Linked DNA regions of Homo sapiens: region 1 is linked to region 2. The links are contacts of gene promoters, found by promoter capture Hi-C in blood cells and fetal thymus (Javierre and others, 2016). All regions are on one chromosome and are shown on one strand. Each heading gives the region's core, a stretch centred on a gene start or on the middle of the fragment in contact. The rest is flanking DNA. Distances are from core to core; before and after follow the strand shown. Region 1 holds the start of PIMREG (PICALM interacting mitotic regulator). Region 2 holds the start of KIAA0753.

What was found. The method cuts DNA at HindIII sites, captures the fragments that hold promoters and counts their contacts. A CHiCAGO score of 5 or more calls a contact.
Region 1: a contact is called between the fragment with the promoter of PIMREG here and the fragment with the promoter of KIAA0753 in region 2, in 2 of 17 cell types (M0 macrophages and M1 macrophages). The highest score is 6.4, in M0 macrophages.

The regions. Positions count from the first base shown.
Region 1 is chr17:6,442,679-6,445,877 of GRCh38, forward strand. PIMREG (PICALM interacting mitotic regulator) reads left to right here and starts at 1,777. Exons shown (of 6, transcript NM_019013.3): 1 at 1,777-1,810; 2 at 2,398-2,726. The coding sequence starts at 2,433. The region is part of intron 2 of LOC107985017 (a long non-coding RNA gene); the gene reads right to left. RefSeq lists silencers at 1,087-1,236, 1,467-1,716, 1,799-2,026 and an enhancer at 1,157-1,735. The HindIII fragment of the contact is 3,587 bases long and covers 1-3,025 here.
Region 2 is chr17:6,639,448-6,642,627 of GRCh38, forward strand. KIAA0753 reads right to left here and starts at 1,264. Exons shown (of 19, transcript NM_014804.3): 1 at 1,190-1,264. It overlaps TXNDC17 (thioredoxin domain containing 17), which reads left to right and starts at 1,613. Exons shown (of 4, transcript NM_032731.4): 1 at 1,613-1,780; 2 at 2,306-2,387; 3 at 2,802-2,877. The coding sequence starts at 1,636. It overlaps LOC122526780, which reads right to left and starts at 869. Exons shown (of 1, transcript NM_001396008.1): 1 at 1-869. The coding sequence starts at 869. RefSeq lists enhancers at 791-1,672, 1,803-2,072, 2,273-2,332. The HindIII fragment of the contact is 13,898 bases long and covers 1-3,180 here.

The DNA of each region.
Region 1 (3,199 bases), core at 527-3,026, 200 kb before region 2:
AACATTATCTTTGAAGTCCTTTGAGCCCTTTCCTCATTACATCCTCTTCTCCTGCCACCCTTCCAAAAACGACGACTTATTTTATTTTGGTGTTTCAATTCCTTTGCTTTCCATAATAGCTTTGTCCACAAATGTATGTGCATATTCCTAAACCATATTGTTGAGCTTTTTTGCGTTTGAATTTATACAGTGTCATACTTTATGTTTGTCTGCATATTGCTTTTTTTTAATCTAACATATTTCTGAGATTGACTTAAGTTACACCATCTGGCTACAATTTGCTTATTTTTCAGTGCTGTATAATATTCTATAATTTGAATAAATAACAATTTATATGTCTTAAAAAATGCCACCGATAGCCAGGAACGGTGGCTCACGTCTGTAATCCCAGCAGTTTGGGAGGCTGAGGCGGGTGGATTGCCTAAGGTCAGGAGTTCGAGACCAGCCTGGCCAACATAGTGAAACCCCATCTCTACTAAAAATACAAAAAATTAGCTAGGCGTGGTGGCAGGCACCTGTAATCCCAGCTACTAGGGAGGCTGAGGCAGGAGAATCGCTTGAACCTGGGAGGCGGAGGTTGCAGTGAGCCGAGATCATGCCATTGCACTCCAGCCTGGGCAACAAGAGTGAAATTCCGTCTCAAAAACAAACAAAAAATGCCACCGATATATGAATTTGGGCATTACATTTCCAACATGTGAAATTTGAGGGACACATTCAAACCATAGCAGAGGATCAAGTAAGTTAATAAACTGCAACACCGGTACCTGTGCATACTAAGTGCCATATACACGTTAATCATTATCATCATCCTTTCCTTGGAAATCACTGAGGCCAAAGGAGTGGGTGAGACCACCCAGAAACGGAGAGGGCTGAAGACAGAGTCTCAAGAAGCCATCATCTCAGGCTCTTGTGCGGAGAAGTAACAAAGAAACCAGCCGGGGGAGTGGGCAGCACTGCTCTGAGGTCACCGAAAGGAGAAAGATGAGCTGGAGAGAGCTTTATAATGGCTGCATTTGTTTGGATGCTAAGGAGAAGAGAGGCAGGCATTCCGCTGGAGAGAGGGAGGGATGCGTGGGGCAAGGCGGGGGCGGGGAGCCGGTGTAGACGGGTGGAGGGCAGACCGGTACTCTGGTCTATCCCCGCTTCCGGGACGCGTTTTCTAGGGAGGGCGGAGCGTGGATGGCGAGTATGGGGAACTCAGAGAGGGACAGTGTCTTGTCACAGGAAGGGAGGGTCAGGAGGGAAATTTGAAAGAAAACGTCTCTGGGAACCCAGGGCTCTGCACTGCCAGTCCCTGGCTCCTTCTGACAAAACCACTGAGCAAGAAGGAAAAGCCAGACCCCTTGGCAGGATGAGAGGGGTCTCTGCCCGCTGCCGGGCCTGGGGCCTGGGGCCTGAGCCAGGAGGCCTAGGTCCCAGGACCTCCGCCTCCACCCCATGGGTCAGAGCAGCCTGAACCCTGTGCGCGCTCCAGGGAGGGGACCCGGTGTGCGATGCGCGGGGGCTGGGCTAGCAAGGGCAGTGGCGCGAGCGGGACGCAGGATACAAAGCCCGGAGCCACGAGGCTGGCGGCGGGGCGGGGGCCGGAGCGATGAATGGGCACGGCCGGGCCAATCCAAGCGCAGCATTTGCAGCCGCGAGAGAGGGAGCCAATCGGATCCCCGGGGCGGTGGCGGTGGCGGGGGCGGGGACGGAACCAATCAGCTGTGAGGACGGGGCCGGGGGCGGAGCCGCGCAGAGTTTCAAATCGGCTGCGGTGGGCGAGGAGCAGCTGTGCTGCGGCTGTGCTCGGCCTTAGTGGTGTCGGGTGAGTGCGGGCTGGGCACAAGTTTCGCCCTTGTTGCCCAGGCTGGAGTGCAATGGCGCGATCTGGACTCAAAACAATTTTTTTGTTCGGAGGGGAGGGCATCAGGTTCTGTTCACAGGGGAGGGCATCAGGTTCGGACACGCACGGCCTGTGGGGTCGTCTGGGTACCACAAGAAGTCGGATCGAAATCGGGGCGTCTGGTGGGAAGGCCGGGGTCTGGGCGGGTGCGCGTTTGGTCTGGGCGAGCTGGTGAAGAAGATGGTGATCGTGTCCTGGGCCCAGCGCTGAAGCTCGGCTACGGCGTGTCTTGACCCTGCCTCCCCTCCTCGCCTGAGCCAGAGAGAGGAAGGAGGTTGGGATGAAAAGACAGCTGTTTTGGAAACTTGAAGGGCGGGACATCAGAAATGCTGCTGACCCGAGGCCCCTCTTCCAGGAAGCATCCTCCTTCCTGCACCCACACTTACCAACTCGCCCGCCCCCGCCACCCCGCTGCATCCCGTCTCTTCCCCTGTGTCCAGGGTCTCTGTGGGGCCTGGGAATGGGTATGGGGAATGCCTTGCTGATCTGCCTTTCGCCCTCCTCCCCAGGGTCTAGTGGACAGAGAAGACTCTTGGCCAGGCAGATGGCTTCTCGGTGGCAGAACATGGGGACCTCCGTGCGCCGGAGATCTCTCCAGCACCAGGAGCAGCTGGAGGACAGCAAGGAGCTGCAGCCTGTGGTCAGCCATCAGGAGACCTCTGTAGGGGCCCTGGGGTCCCTGTGCAGACAGTTCCAAAGGAGGCTGCCCCTGAGAGCCGTCAACCTCAACCTCCGCGCAGGGCCCTCCTGGAAACGCCTGGAAACCCCAGAGCCAGGTCAGCAGGGCCTCCAGGCTGCAGCTCGCTCAGCTAAGAGTGCTTTGGGTGCCGTGTCCCAGGTAATACTGACAACACTAATCATCTTTTTTATGGAGTGTTTCCTTGGTGCCAGGCAGTTCCTGCCCTCAAAGAGCCTCAAGAATATAGACTTCATGAAAACAGGGACGTTGGTTAGTTCACTGCTGTTTCCCCACCACCCCAGATAGTTCCTGGCACATATAGGTGCTCAACAAATAGTTGAATGAGTGAATGAAAGCATGTCTTGGAGGAAACAGATGCTCACAATACCAGGTGATAAGAGCTGTACGTGATAGGAAATTGCAAAGCAAGTGACCAATAGTGAGGCTCACCAAATGCAAGCTTAGTCGGTGAAGGCTTCCCAGAGGAGGTGATTCCAGAGTTCACCCAGGGAAGCAAAGGTCAAGGGGTATTTAGGGTAGGGGAAATAGTGCAAGTCCAGGCCTAGAGCTGAGGGAAAGCAAGGTGTACTGCCCACTCAGCTGTGTATCCCTGAGGAGAGCCAGAATTGTAG
Region 2 (3,180 bases), core at 14-2,513:
TCAGGAACCCCCACAGCTTCTCCCCTCCACAGGTGCGGGGCCATTTCAGAACTTGACGCCAAAGCCCCAGGCACACTCGCAGGAGGCACCCTCCCAGCCTGTCCCTGTCCACAGAAGCCTAAGGCTCTCTCGTAAGCTGCCCCTAAGCCCAGAGCTGTGGGCCCTGAGGGGGCCCGAGGGATCCCCCTTGCCTGTTCCTTCACCCAGGGCCCTGTAAGACCGCCGCGGCTTGTCTCTACCCAGGAAGCTCGGCCAGGAACACCCCTTTCGACAGGTCCCTCTCCTGCAGGCACGGGATGGAGCTCGACTCTACTTCCTTCCCCACATCCCGAGGCGGCCCTCATAGCCTGCACCTTCAGCCACAGGTGCAGAATGCTCTCATGGCCCAGAGATCCCGGGCGACCTTTTCTCTCGCAGCCCCGGGGACTTCTATCTTCGGTCTCCTCCTCCCCAGACCCGGTCACCCACACAGCCCCGGCAAGCCCCACCACCTCGGGCTCCCCCACAGCCCCGTTCACCCACACAGCCCCAGGGTCCCTTGCAGCCTCGATGGAGCCTGGGGTCCCAGGAGCTCCCAAAGCCTCATTCGCCCCGGCGGCGTCGGCTGTCTCCGCCGCTTGTCTCGTCCCCCATGGCCGCTGACGGCCCTGTGGCCTTTCTGCACTCACACAGCGCGTCTCCCACTCCGAGGGCTTCGCCCGGCGCCTTGCTCCACGGCCTCGGGACGTCCCTGCGCCCCGTCTCTTCCCCCACGGCCGCCGAACCCCCCGCCCCGACCTGCTGGGCCCCACGCAGCGACCCGGCATCTTAGCCGCCTGCTCTCCCCGGCGCAGCCTGGGCAAGGCCCCACGGCGAGTCTCCCGGCTCATAGCTCCAGGGCAGTTCCCTTCCTCCCTACCGCGGCCCTGGGGGATGTCTTAGCACCTCGCTCCCTAAGCTGCTCCACACACGCACTCACACACTCCGCTCCGGCCTTGCAGCCTTTCTCCCTCCGAGCCCCTCACCCATCCCACCCCCGCCCAGTCTCGGGAACCCGCCCCCAGTCCCAGGCCCCCGTAAAGCCTAGACGGCAGAAAAGGTAACTGGGGGGACAAAGCAACAAAGGCTTTCCGAGTCAGATCTCCTCTCCCCCAAGTCCATGACTCTATGCGGCTTCCCAGAATCCCCCCCAGCCCCGGCCCGAGCCCACCTGGCCTAGGGTGAGGCGCGGCTACTGGGAGGCGGGCAACGGGGGCCCCCAACAAGGCCGCGCTTCCGGCCGCCTGCCCAGTCGCCATAGCAACAGGCGCAGGGCGGCTTGGGAGCCTTTGAGGCCCTGAACTATTTAAGGATCCAGGTGTTGCAAGGCGGTAAGTTTTGCAGCCAGTGTCCATGAGGTCGGGGCTGGGACTAGATTAGGGTAGATCTAAGCCTGGGCTTGGGAGTGCAGCTAGCGCAGAAAGATCTGAGGAACTAGAGCAAAAAGCCATGCGGATGGATTGTGGTCGTCAGAGGCTCCCGTAGTCTTTAGCGGCGCTGGCTTCCGCAGGCTCCGCCCTCTCTTGCCCACCCGGAAACAGCCTCGCCCCGCCTACGCGGGACCCAACCGCGGCGACCGGACGTGCACTCCTCCAGTAGCGGCTGCACGTCGTGCCAATGGCCCGCTATGAGGAGGTGAGCGTGTCCGGCTTCGAGGAGTTCCACCGGGCCGTGGAACAGCACAATGGCAAGACCATTTTCGCCTACTTTACGGGTTCTAAGGACGCCGGGGGGAAAAGCTGGTGCCCCGACTGCGTGCAGGGTGAGGCCGGGATTCGGGGGCTGCTGTCCAATGGAAATGGCAGGAAGGTCGAGCCTACGGCCAGAAGGGGGGCTTAGCGGAGGCAGAGTCTTGGTTCCAGACATCCGCGGAGCAATCTGAGCTGTCCCCAAGTCTCCTTCTATTAAATCCTACCCCGCCCTGCCAAGAGCGCTCTTCCTTTTACCACCTTACCCGGATGATCTTGGAATCTAGTTCCTTAAAACTTCTCACTCCCCCAGTACCATTAGTGTCTTACAGGATACGTGAGTTGGTCAGCAAATACATGTGCTTTCCATTGTTACGGGCGCGGTGGTGCAGGGGCAAATCGGGACTGGGATTTGGTCCTTACCCTTAACGTGGCTCTAAGACCAGAAGGGAACACCTGACTTGTGTTGACCTCTTCAGTTAGCTGCAGGTTAAAGTCTGAGTGCTTACCAAGACTGGGGGAAGGGGGAAAGAACACAGTTTATACGTGCCTGATTGTAGAGTTGACGTGCGATTATTTTATCTCAACTTTTTTTAAAGCTGAACCAGTCGTACGAGAGGGGCTGAAGCACATTAGTGAAGGATGTGTGTTCATCTACTGCCAAGTAGGAGAAAAGCCTTAGTAAGTGGCAATGTATAATCTACCTCGCAGACGTGCACAAATTGCATACTTAGGCGGGAAGGGCCTCAGGGACTTACTTACCCAGTTTGTCTTACAAGGTAATGTCTGACAAGTTAAACAATTAGAAGCTATTAAATACAAATTTAAAATGCCCACCTGAATTAAGTAAGGGTAATTCAACGAATTTGGTCTGGTGTAAGCCCAGAACTTAGCTGGCTTTACTTTTATATCTTAGTCACACTTTGAAACTTTGCACAGGGTAATTAGTAGATTAAGCCATAGTCCGCAAGGTTTTTTAAGTGTTTGCAAGAACAGTGATTACTAAAAAATTAAATGTAGGACTATGTCAAATATTAAGCAAACTGTAATAAACCAAGTAAATTTTTTTCATGATCACTTTTTCTTTTCGAATAGTTGGAAAGATCCAAATAATGACTTCAGAAAAAACTTGAAAGTAACAGCAGTGCCTACACTACTTAAGTATGGAACAGTAAGTATCTTTAAATATGCTGGGCCTGTAATTCACTGTCAGAACTCTTTTAACTTGCTGTGGATCCAGATTTGAAAAGATCTTGACATTTCATCTCAATTCCATTGTTGTTCAGAGTGCTGCTGAAAGTCCATTCCTATGGCCAATCCCAATAAACTGATAATGTAAATATCTAGCTATTAGGTCTTTTTCATGTTAAGTCACTCTTAAAAAACCAGAAAGTAGGTTGACTCATAATTCCTTAAAACATTTGCATCAACAGTTGTTTTCTGTTTAATTCATAATTCTGGTTAAAAAGTAAGG